Linked DNA regions of Homo sapiens: all the other regions are linked to region 1. The links are contacts of gene promoters, found by promoter capture Hi-C in blood cells and fetal thymus (Javierre and others, 2016). All regions are on one chromosome and are shown on one strand. Each heading gives the region's core, a stretch centred on a gene start or on the middle of the fragment in contact. The rest is flanking DNA. Distances are from core to core; before and after follow the strand shown. Region 1 holds the start of COA1 (cytochrome c oxidase assembly factor 1). Region 2 overlaps HECW1 (HECT, C2 and WW domain containing E3 ubiquitin protein ligase 1). Region 3 overlaps HECW1 (HECT, C2 and WW domain containing E3 ubiquitin protein ligase 1).

The links. The method cuts DNA at HindIII sites, captures the fragments that hold promoters and counts their contacts. A CHiCAGO score of 5 or more calls a contact.
Region 2: a contact is called between a fragment that was not itself captured here and the fragment with the promoter of COA1 in region 1, in 2 of 17 cell types (megakaryocytes and total B cells). The highest score is 6.9, in megakaryocytes.
Region 3: a contact is called between a fragment that was not itself captured here and the fragment with the promoter of COA1 in region 1, in 1 of 17 cell types (activated CD4 T cells). The highest score is 6.7, in activated CD4 T cells.

What each region holds. Positions count from the first base shown.
Region 1 is chr7:43,727,123-43,731,217 of GRCh38, reverse strand. It overlaps COA1 (cytochrome c oxidase assembly factor 1), which reads left to right and starts at 1,695. Exons shown (of 6, transcript NM_018224.4): 1 at 1,695-1,789. RefSeq lists enhancers at 1,385-1,584, 951-1,679, 1,680-2,409. The HindIII fragment of the contact is 9,306 bases long and covers 1,042-4,095 here.
Region 2 is chr7:43,420,690-43,424,559 of GRCh38, reverse strand. The region is part of intron 8 of HECW1 (HECT, C2 and WW domain containing E3 ubiquitin protein ligase 1); the gene reads right to left. Among named protein-coding and RNA genes, the nearest start is that of LUARIS, 100 kb to the left of the region's middle. The HindIII fragment of the contact is 3,576 bases long and covers 1-3,231 here.
Region 3 is chr7:43,300,985-43,305,374 of GRCh38, reverse strand. The region is part of intron 3 of HECW1 (HECT, C2 and WW domain containing E3 ubiquitin protein ligase 1); the gene reads right to left. Among named protein-coding and RNA genes, the nearest start is that of MIR3943, 150 kb to the right of the region's middle. RefSeq lists an enhancer at 649-1,149. The HindIII fragment of the contact is 2,714 bases long and covers 1,689-4,390 here.

The DNA.
Region 1 (4,095 bases), core at 446-2,945:
TGGTACAAAGGAGTTAGAGGAAAATGAATATTGGATAGGTAACATTATTCACTATAGAGTTTTGTTTTTAATGTAAAATTTAGACGACAAAAAAATTCTGTGTGATGACTGGTTTAATCAGTATCATTTTGATTCTGGGAACAGGGCAGCTATCTGAATAAAATAAGGATTTTGGTACAAAGGAGTTAGAGGAAAATGAATATTGGATAGGTAACATTATTCACTATAGAGTTTTGTTTTTAATGTAAAATTTAGACGAAAACTTTAGCAGATTTAAGTCCAGTGATAGAAATGTTAAGTTCTGAGTTTTCAAGCAAATGGTCAGAAAAGCCTATTTAATGTTTTATTACTTACAAAGTAAACATATTTCTCTTTCTGGTACAGAACGGGAGCTAATTGATCTCGGGTTCATTTTCATGAACGTTGTATGAAATGCACATATACCAAACCTCATAAGCTTTTTATTAGTTGATTTATTCTTTGAAATATTAAGCTTGGTGTAAGGTATTATAACCTCAATCTCTTTGAAAATGTAATAAGTCAATAATCAATGTTGCATCAATGAATATTACTCAGTGGATGCCTATTTTATTTCTTCTTTTTCTCTAAGAACCATTTAAATAGTCCTTATGGCCGAGCACTTCACAATCTGATTAGTTTCTATTAATTCTTTGGAAAAGAAACATTCTGGGAAGTCAGAATTCAGCGGTAGGTTGCTTTGATAATGTGCTCATTTAGCTAGTGGATTCCAGAGTGATAGAATGTATGTTTGGCAACCTAATTGTTGTGGAGGAAGAAAAGAACTTCTGTTAGAAGTTTTTAAAAAAGTTTAAAAATTGTTTTTACCTCATCAAAAGTTTGATGTCTTGTGAGTTTTATAGCATGCATAATATATTAATGCCATACATGACACATGTAAATATATATATATTTTTTCTGATAGGGATGTGTGAGCAAGAGTTTAAAGAAGAATGCCCCAGTCTAAAGTTAATTAGTCTTGGAGTGATGGCTTCGCAGAGGAAAGATACTGGATTTCAAGCTTGACATTAAGGTGATAATAGTGGTGACTATGGAATAATCAATATAAAAATAATAACAGCTAACAGTTACTGAGCGCCTACAAACTGCCAGACACTACTCTAAGTGCTTCACATCCTCATAACAAATTTATGAGGTAAATGCTATTATTATCCACCAGCCTTCTGAAATTTTCTTACCCCGTTACTCCCTGGTGTTAACTGGGTACTTAATTTGTCGAATAAAATAAAATTTAGTGCTGCCAAATTTGTCAGCTGAACGGGGCGGCAGGAATTTCAGTGCTAGAGTGGGGGGCCAGACGGCCCGGGGCTTCGTGTCCTTGGAGGCCAGCGGAAGCGCCGCATACCTGTGAGGAGCAACGTGAGCCGGTGGCTTATATTTCCTGGGCTAGTGCTACTGGACTGAATGCATTTGCAATAACCGGACGCAGAAAAAAAAAAAAAAAGCGGGGACCAGGGGAGGCGAAACCCTTCCCGGCGCGAGTCCGAGCGTCTGAGAAGCAGAAGCCACACGTCCCGGCGACCTAAGTTCTGGATCAGCCGGCCGGAGGACCCGTGTTAGCATTTACAATCCGAGGTGAGCTGAAGCCTCCGGTTGTCCCGGTTCGACGCTCTAGCCCTGCGAGCAGCCGACGCCGGAAGTCTCTACTGCTCCCCGCTGGCGCGCAGGACCGCGGGCATTTACCCGTGCTTTCCCAAGCCTGGAAGAACTCGTCATGCTCTTTGTAGCGTGGTGCTTCTGTTGCTCACAGGTTAGTCTCCCGCGGTATAAGAGTCTCCGTCTTCCCCCCAGCAAGAAGCGTTTGTTCCTGCAATTCGGGGGGCCGCCTTTGCGCGCGGGGTGCGCTGCTTCTTGGAGAGTTCCCTCACGGGTCACATCGCGGAGGTTCGCGCCGGCGCCGGGTCGCGGCCTCCCTGCGCAGCTTCTTTGGCACCTGGTAACCTTCAGTGGCTCCGTCCGCTCGGAGTTAGGAGGCTGTGTCGAGCTAACCTTGACCTTGTCCTGCAGTTTTTGCTGACCATCCCCAACAGCACACTGTAAAGAGTTAGGGTCCTCTCGAAGAGTTGGGACTGGGCACTTTTGTTGGTAGTGCTAAATTTCAACACCCTGAGGAGTACGCTGCCCAAATTATTGTAGGAAAGAATTACCTGGTTTAGTGGTTATAATACTTTTTGTCCCCACCACACTTGAATAACAGAAAAACCCTCCCAACAGGGGCTGACTGCAAAAGTGATTTTCTGTGTAGGGGACATTGGATGTATTTATGTATATATCAGTGCCTATCAGTCTGTATGTGTGTTTGGGGGTGGATGCTGTGTAATTTAAAAAAATCTATGGAGATTCTGATAATTTGATAACCTGTTTCTCCGGTCTTCCCCTGATTCCTCCCCATTCTCCCCGGAGGGCTATTGCTTTATTTCTGAGGTGGCTCACGTTTGGATAGAAGTAGCAACTCTCCGCTTACACCTGCACGTTTAAAACGCATATCAGATTGTGTTATTTCTGTCCTCAGAATCTTCCTGGCCTTCCCGTTGCTTTCAGGATAATACACATTTCTTAGCCTAACTTCAAGGGCCTACAGGGTCTTGATTCTGCTGAGTTTTTCAGTCTTTGCTACTTTCATGGAAAACACACCTGCAGGTACACTCATATTATGCTCCCACCATGCCAGTCTACGGTAATTTAATAACTTTAGATATGGCAAAGTTTTATATGGTTTACTCAAGTTTTAATTTTTGTTCTAGCATTTAGCCAAAATCGATTGAATTCATAATATTGCTAGGCACTGTTTTAAAAACGGGATAAAATGAAAACAAAACAAAACACAAAACAAAAGTCTTCAGTCCTTTAAAAAAATAAAACAGCTTCCTGACACATAGTTCACCTACCGTAGAGTTCACCATTTAAAACGTAGCGGTGCCTCACGCCTGTAATCCCAGCACTTTGGGAGGCCGAGGCGGGTGGATCACGAGGTCAGGAGATCAAGACCGTCCTGGCTAACACGGTGAAACCCCGTCTCCACTAAAAATACAAAAAATTAGCCGGGCGTGGTGGCGGGAGCCTGTAGTCCCAGCTACTTGGGAGGCTGAGGCAGGAGGATGGTGTGAACCCGGGAGGTGGAGCTTGCAGTGAGCCGAGATTGCGCCACTGCACTCCAGCCTGGGCGAGAGAGCTAGACTCCATCTCAAAAAAAAAAAAAAAGAAAGAAAACCTAAAAGTAATTAGTACATTAGTACATTCACAAAGTTGTACAACCATCATCATAAAATATGCTGTAATCTTCTTCACCTTCATTAGTTGGTTTAATTTTCTATTTCAGACAGACTCCAATAAGTTATTCTTGTATTCTTTTGTTCATGTTTAATATGCTGCATTCAGTTTGTGAGAGCCATATTGGAACAATTGAACATTTTCATCACTCCAAAAGGAAACCCTGTACTTATTCAGCAGGCTCACCTGACTTCCCCATCCCCACTCCCCATTCTAAGCCCTAAGCAACTATGAATTGACTGACTGTATATTTGACTATTCTGGATTATTCATGTGAGTGAAATCATACAGCATGTGGTCTTTTTCAACTGGCTTCTTTTACTTAACATTCATGTTCATCTGTGTTGTATTTAATAGCATGTGTCAGTACTTTTTTTTATTGCTGGTTAATCTTTTATGGGTATTACCACGATTTATTTTCCATTAGTTAGTGGACGTTTGGATTGTTTCCACCTTTTGGCCATTATGTGTAATGCTGCTGTGAACATTCACCTACAAGTTTTTGTGTGGACATCATGTTTTCATTTCTCTTGCGTATGTGCCTAGGAGTGAAATGGCTGGGTCATATGGTAGCTCTGTTTAACATTTTAAGAAATGGTCAGACTGTTTTCCAAAGCATCAGTGTGCATCTTTTTAACATTCGCACCAGTAGTGTATTAGGGTTTTGATTTCTCACTCCTTGCCAACACTTGTCATTATCTGTCTTTCTGATTCTAGCCATTCCAGTGGGTGTGAAGTGTGTGTCATTGTGTTTTCATTCTTTTTCGTTGACATGTAATAATTGTA
Region 2 (3,870 bases), core at 194-2,693, 310 kb after region 1:
CCTTGACCCCCCGGGCTCAAGCCATTTTCCCACCTCAGCTTCCCGAGTACCTGGAACTACAGGCACACAACACCAGGCTCAGCTAATTTTAAATTTTGTGTGTGTGGAGATGGGGTTCTGCTATGTTGCCTAGGCTGGTCTTGAACTCCTGGGCTCAAGCGATCCTACCACCTTGGCTTCCCAAAGTGTTGGGATTAGAGGCGTGAGCCACTGCACCTGGCCTGTTCGTATTTTTTTAGTAACTTTTTTTCCAGGCTAATAACCCATTGCCCTGAAAAATGCTGAGAAAGCTACACGGAGCAAAGCCTGTCAGGACTTGAGATTTGTCACTGGAGCATAGTAATTTTCTTCCAGCAAGACAAGCCTGATGGAGACAAAGATGGGGACCTGCTAAGAGGGCCCCCAAAAGGATGGAATCACAGTCAGAGATGAGCCTGGCTGAAGTGGAATTTCTGCTGTGGCCGTTTTATGTAGATATGCCAAAGACAACTGCTACCATCTCTGAAATTTCTTTTGTTCTCTCCCACCTGCCTGCTCCATCATTCCTGATTCTTGTATTTCCTCATTTCTAGATACTCCTTTGGCTCTGTCTGTACCTGGTTTCTGTTTTTCTGAAGCCTTCGTGCTTAGAAATCTGCTTAGATCTGCTCTCCTCAGACTCTAGCCCCACCTTTGATTTTTGGTATCAGTCTTACAGGATGTCACTTTTAGTGTTAGTCTTCAACTTTTTCAATCAATGAACGAGGCACCAGTTCCAGCTCCAGTCTGTAGTGTTTGCCAATTTTCTTGGTGTAAATACTCCCTCGATGGCTGATTTCACTAAATGTGGAGTTGGGAAGAGTTGCACATGAGCTGTCAGCTCACATGAGCTGGCTCCAGCTCACCACCCACCACCATGGATGGATGTGCCAAGCTAACCCCTTGCCCAGCTCACTCTATTCCTCCATAAGACATTGGCAATGGTTTTCAAGGAGTTTCACTGCTGCACTCAAAAACTCCATCTTATGTCCTCAGAAGTTGAAAAATGATGCTAACAGACAAGTACAAGGAACACTTTGGCAAGTGAATATCAAACAGTGTGTCTCTGAGTCTCAGGTTCTGTGAATGAGCCTCAGGCATCACTGTAGAACAAGAGGCAGTACCTCCAGTCTCCCACCCCACGTAAACAGAAGAGTGTCCCCTATGTTTTCATGTTGGTGATTCATTCATGAGTTCCTTTCATAAAATGGTTCAGCAGCTGATTTTACTAACAAAAGAACTGGTTTTTGTACTTAGATGATGGTTGTCTATGTCAGGGAACTTAAAAAATCATTTGTGAAACTGCTGTCCTGGGGAAATAATGCCGTCTTTAGGGCTGCTCACACACTCACCACCAGTACCAGCTCTGCGTTTCAGAGAATGATTTTCTTCCATAAATGTGATTTTTTTGTGCTAATGACACTATGTTTACTTTGTCCAGGTCAAAAGCACACTTTAATGTCTGATTAAATTATCTTGTAATTTCTAATCAGTCAGGACTGAAGTGAATGATCTATCTTAAACCAATCAGAGATTGTTTACAACGCCTTGGGGCTGTCTGATGACAGTAATCACTTAGCAATTGTGCTTAAATCCTGGAGACCACGACTCTCGGCCAGGCACTGCGATTTATCTCCAGGTGACGACTCTCGGCCAGGCACTGCGATTTATCTCCAGGTGACAGGGCTTTTAGCTTAACCTGGCTGATTGTTCTGCTCCATCAAAAAGGTTTTGGCAATTTCCCTTTCTAATAAGTCTCATTCTCATTTACTCATGGTGTTGTTGAAATGATTAAATGTGGTAACTCTGGTAAACAATCTACCAGTATATATAATTCTGGTAAAGCACTCGGCATCAAGAAGTATCCTCTAAAGGCCGGGTGCTGTGGCTCATGCTTGTAATCCCAGCACTTTGGGAGGCTGAGGCAGGTAGATCATCTGACATCAGGCGTTCAAGACCAGCCTGGCTAATGAACATAGTGAAACCCCATCTCTACTAAAAATACAAAAAAATTAACCAGGCGTAGTGATGTGTGTCTGTAATCTCAGCTACTCGGGAGGCTGAGGTAGGAGAACTGCTGGAACCCAAGAGACGGAGGTTGCAGTGAGCTGAGATCGTACCACTGCACTCCAGCCTGGGTGACAGAGCGAGACTCCTCAAAAAAAAAAAAAAACAACAACAACCAAAAAACAATTAAAAAAAGAGAAGTATACTCTAAAAGTTCAGGCCCAACCCTGACCCCTGGTGTTTATGCCCATATTTGACTCTTTAAGTTGTCTGGCAGTGGTTTGGGTAATTGTAGGGTAATGGTTTGGTTATGTTTAAATTGTTTGGTAATGTTTTGGTTAGGTTGGTGCAAAGGTAATTGCAATTTTGGCCATTACTTTTAATGGCAAAACCGCAATTACGTTTCCTCCAATCTGATATTTAACAACATCTCACAACCAGCACCAGCATTAGAAAACACCCTGAGCTCGCTGTACTGTTTGTTTGATGTTCTTCTCACACACCAGAGCCCTAGTTTAAACATACTGTAGGGAGATAAGCAAAGGGATATTAAAGAGACCAGAAGACAAAAGCAAGGGATCATGGCTAAGTATATTTACCTCCACACTTCTCTGTGTTCATGCCTCAGGCTGGTCCAGGCTTCCTCGTTTCCCACCTGGCTTCTGTAATGTCTCCTAACTGATGTCCTTGCTCCCTGCCTCCTATCAGCAGAGTTGGAGAGTCTATGTTCCACACCTCACCAGCAGCCATCATTGTTGATCTTCTTCAGTTTGGCCATACCATTGCACACTGGTGAGTGTGCAGTGGTATCACACCATACTTTTAATTTTCATTCCTGGATGTCAAAATAAGTTAAACACCTTCTCATAGGTTTAGTGGCATTTGGACATCCCCGCTTTGTGTGGTGGCTGTTGAAGTCTTTGTTCCATTTTTCTGTTGGTTTCTGTCCTTTTCTTTTTGATTTTAGGAGGTAGTATTTATAGTCTAGATATTAGCTGTCACCTAGACATAGCTCAACATCTTTACCCACTCTGTGGCTTGCTCTTAATGTAAAGTTTTGATGAACGGTGGTTCTTAATTTTATTGCCATTCAATTAATTATTCTTTTATTTTATGATTAATGCTTTCTATTTTCTATTTAAGATTTTTTTGGCTTCCACAAGGACATGAAAGTATTCTTACTTGTTTTCTTATGAATTAGAAGCTTTATTGTTATAATTTCATATCTAAATGTACAATTGATTTGGAATAGACTGTGTATGTTGTGAGACTGCATTCAAGGTTTCTTTCTTTTCTGTATGGACAGCAAATTGACCCAACATCAAATATTGAACAGGCTATCCTTTCCATAACATACAGCAGCAGCACTATTGTCGTAAAACGATGATGCTATGTGGTGCATCTATTTCTGGATTCTCATCTATTTAATTAGCTATTTGTCTGTTCTGTGCCAATGCCACACTATTTAATTCTTAGAGCTTCATATTTTATCTGGACATCCGGCAGTATAAAAGTCCTGCTTTTTTTTTCTTTTCTTTTTCAAGACTCTCTTACCTCTACTTGGCATTTTGTATTTCAATACAAATGTTAGAATTAGCTTGTCAAGTTACATTAACATATCTCCCAGGATTTTGATTAGGATATCGCTGAAACCACAGATCAATTTGGGGAAGAATTGACACCTAAAGAATATTGACTTTTCTAAGCCTTGAACAATATCTCCTTTCATCTAGGCTGTTTTAAATTTCTCTCAGCAAAGTGGTAGTGCACGGTGTAACCATATTCCTCCTCTGCAGTTAGATTTATTCCTTGGTTTTTGATGCTACTGTAAATAATATCTTTTAA
Region 3 (4,390 bases), core at 1,796-4,295, 430 kb after region 1:
TCTGAGCTTCTCGGCAGCCAAGAAGATAAAAGGAAAGCTTAGTTCTTATGATCAGAATACAGGGACTTTTTTCTTCCTCCAAGTTCTTAACGAAATGTTTCATCTTAGACTTTCTGTAGGAAACACAATGAAATGTGGTGAGTAAGATCTTAAGAGACTTTTAATCACGATTATAGTGGCAGATTCCTGGTACAAGGCTTTGACAAAAGCCAAGGTCATCGCAGGAAGAGAGTTCATTAGGGACTGAGCGACTGTGCTGTGTTGCCTTCCGACCACATTCCAAAGTCTACCTGGCTCAGTCACTTCTAGGGGAAGCTTTACCCCAAAGCTTCCACTCTGAACTCAGTGACTGTTCTCAGTCCCGCAGCTTCCTCTCTGGCCTCAATGGAGATTTCGATCAGAGCCTGAATGAGATGTTCTGTCTAAAACTGCCTTACCTGTCAACTTATTTTTTGTCAGTCCCCTCTACTTAGAAGGCAGGCACCAAGACAGCAGCCCAGCCTAGCTCCTTTAGGTCTGCATTTCCAGCAAAAGTAGTGCCTGGCAAGAACATAGATGATGCTCAGTAAATACTTTGTTGAGGCTGGGTGCTATGGCTCACGCCTGTAATCCCAACACTTTGGGAGGCCAAGGCGGGCATATCACCTGAGGCCAGGAGTTTGAGACCAGCCTGGCTAACATGGTGAAACCCCGTCTCTACTAAAAATACAAAAAAATTAGCCATGTGTGGTGACACGTGTCTGTAATCCCAGCTATCCCAGGAGGCTGAATCAGGAGAATCGCTTGAACCAGGGAGGTGGAGGCTGCAGTGAGCTAAGATTGCGCCACTGCACTCCAGCCTGGGTGACAGAGTGAGACTCCATATCGATAAATAAATAAATAAATAAATAAATAAATAAATAAATAAATAAATAACTGTGTTGAATGAATGAATGCACTTGTGGGTAACGTGTGGGCTGGGGTGCACCTGGACATGGGGCTCTGCTCCTTGAGCTCAGGAATTCTTGTAAGCACTAGGCTTGGTGCCCAGAATTGCTCGAATTGAGTTCCTGGTTCCTGGACTGCACTGGGATGGGTCAGGTGTCCGGATGCAGGACCAGCAGAAGCACCGGGAATCCCTGAGGCAGTACAGGAGAAGTGGGGATGGCCTGGGTTGGAGGGTTTGGAGACAGGCCAGGGCAGCTTTATCCAGAGCTCTACTTGCTGCTGGGCCCTGCTGGTCCTAACAGTCTAAAAGCAGAAACCTCCTACCCAACCCAATGGCAGGCACAAGAGATCACAAAAATCACTGCAGCCCACGCATTTCCTCTGAGTCACGACTGTTAAGGGAAACAATTCGTTAGGCTAAAAAGAAGGGCTCCACCTCTCTGGGAATTGCCTTCATCACCTGTCAAATAAGAAGAAAGTGTTGGGATGAGATTAAATACTGCCCCTGGGTCCTCCTCTCCCTCTCACATCCTGAGATTTGAGTCCTGCTTACCCATTTGTACCTCTGCTTGGGAACTGCTGTGTATGAGGGATGTTGTGGGACAGGGGCGGGTGTAGGGGCTCTCAGGTGTAAGGGAGGAGAGTGGGAGGTGGCTGCTAAACCACCATCTCTGTCTAACTCTTCAGCTCCCAGACACCTGTTCCTGAAACCTGTGCCTCAATTTGTGCTTTCAGCCTCAAAGCCATGTGCTAAAAAAGCTTTCTTTTGTGCTGGCCATTGTGTGGAAGAATATCACAGAATTACATAAACTAAATTGTGTGGGCTTCTTTTCTTTGAAAAAGAAATAAAATCCCACTCATTGCTGGCTGAAAGGGAACATTAGGGGGAGAAAATTTTAATAAGCAAATCAAGCCAAGCCAGATAATATCCACACAGGAAGTCATGATTTAAAATACAAGGAACTTGTTAAAATGCCAGTCAGACACATTATTTTAGGAACACATAATGCCTTATCGCTCATAAAAAAAAATCCACCAATAAGTGTAAGGTTGAACATCCCCTCCCACTTTTGACTCTGCAGCCCTTTGATGGCAGGTGTTGGGGGGCGGGGGGTGGGGTGGTCTTTGCTCCTTGTCGCTCGCACACCATTCTCACTCACACGTAAGAGAAACCAGCTGGAGGCCAGGCTCCAGGAGGGGCATGATTGGACCATTCACTGCTTTGCTCAAGTCTAGGACTGCTTGGTGCAGCTCTGGGTTATTTGGGAGGTTTATGTTTGGAGGCGTTCAGCAGCGAAGTTGCTGAAATCTGGGTGGTTTGTATGGGCAGAGGAATGGGCAGGGGGCTGTGGGTGTGGGAGAGGGAGGAAGGTGGCAGCCAGGAGGGCCTCGTCAGGTTAGCTGGGGCAAATTCCTGTTCATAATATTTAGCACCTCCTCTGGTTTACACAGAAAGGAAAGGTGAGAACTGGTATTCCTGTGTGTGTGTGTGCGCGCATGTGTGTGTGCACGTGTGTGGGTGTGTGTGGTGTGTGTGTAAGACACAGAGACAGAATGAATGGGAACTTACAGATGTGAGAAAGAGACCCATTTTTCCCTTCTCAATGTTAGGAAATACTGTTTCTTCCTCAGGAAGGCACTAGCCTGATTGAAAGTGGAAAAGTTTCCTCTTTACCTACTGATACCTGCAGAGGAAAAGGATATGTGTTCACCTCCCAGAACCACAGTGCGGCTCCAGGGGCCCAAGGCGCCCAGCTCCAGGAGCCCTGCGGACCATACAGGAGAGAAAGGGAGGTGGAGCTGCTGTGAGCCAGCCACATCATCCTCCCGGGGCGGCCCCGTACCGGGCATTTGTGAGGAGCCCCCATGATGACCTCAGCCTCACTCCATCCTGAGCCCAGCAGGGCTTGTGCTGTGCTGAGTGGGGTCACTGTGCCTCTTCCCGTAACCAGGGCACCACCACCTGCTTGGCTACAGTCCAGTCTCCAAAAGCCAACCCACAATACTGTGAATCACACAGGAACCCACAGTGACAGTCATGGGAGGGTTCTGGGCCAGCCCCTCCTCTTATTCACCGGGAAGCTGAAGCCTGAGAAGGGCAGCTGCCTGCCCTGACCACGCAGCAGGGGAGCAGCAGGGCCCCAAGTGGACCTTGAGACTCCCTGCGGCCAGTTAGCTGCCTCATCCATGGCCTGAGCTGCCTGGCTTGGGAGGGAGCCTCAGGCTTGTTGAGAAGCCTGAGGAGCCTCAGGCTGTTGTAAGCCAGTGTGTTTCCCTCCTCCATTCATGGTCGTGTCCTCATTTGCCTGCTATTAGGTGATGGGGCCAGACAGGGATTACAGTTCTAAGAAATACACTTAGGAGGGTTTCAGATGCAGTGCTGAGTTTGTATCCTCATTGAAATTAATACTCAAAAGCATGTTATCATTTGTCATGGAGGATCAAGGTGCTGTAAAGATGCTCTCTTTTAAATTCTTATATCCCCTGGGTGGTTTGACCCAGCATCTTTGGGTTTATTTTTAAGTAAATCCTGTCTTTGGTTTTATTCTCCTGCTTCTTTTTTTTTTTTTTTTGACAGAGTTTCCACTCTTGTTGCCTAGGCTGGAAGGAAATGGTGCGATCCCAGCTCACTGTAACCTCTGCCTCCCGGGTTCAAGAGATTCTCCTGCTTCAGCCTCCCGAGTAGCTGGGATTACAGGTGCGTGCCACCGTACCTGGCTAATTGTTTTGTATTTTTAGTAGAGAAGGGGTTTCACCATGTTGGCCAGGCTGGTCTTGAACTCCTGACCTCAAGTGATCCACCTTGACCTCCCAAAGAGCTGGAATTACAGGCGTGAGCCACTGCATCTGGCTTCTTCTTCCTTCCTTTAGCCCAGTCAATCAGGAAATGTGGATGGAGTCTTTAGTGTGTACCAGGCCTTGTGCTAAATGCTGAGTATGGATACAGAGAGGACTTAAACAGTGCTCATAGCCTCGGAGAGTTTGGTGCAGGAGGCAGACATTTAAGCAGTCAACTATGACACAATGGTGAGGGCAATAATGGGGTGGTGGGCATGGTCCCCCCTAGAAGGGAGAGAGATGCTGGGACCACCTTCCCAGATGGGAGGACATGGAAGCTGGACCTGGAAGGAAGGGGCAAGAGCTGAGGGAAATCCAATCTAAGCAGAAGGAACTTCTCGTGGAAAAGCGTATCTTTACTAGAAGCATGCTGAGCTTCCAGATTCAGCAGAGCTCCTCTTAGCTGTCTGCCAGACAGTGTTGGGGGCAGCTGGAAGTGTGTGAAAGGGGTCTCCCATGGCACACCAAGAAATAAGACCTTCTCCATTGGAGAGTGGGGGGCCACGGAGGTTTTGTTCACCTTAGAAACTTCACACTGCAGCAATGAGGGGGAGAGCAAGGTGGACAGAGCTGCTGTGTCTTGGGGAGCCCAAGTATAGCTCTCCTGAATGCCAAGGTCTACATG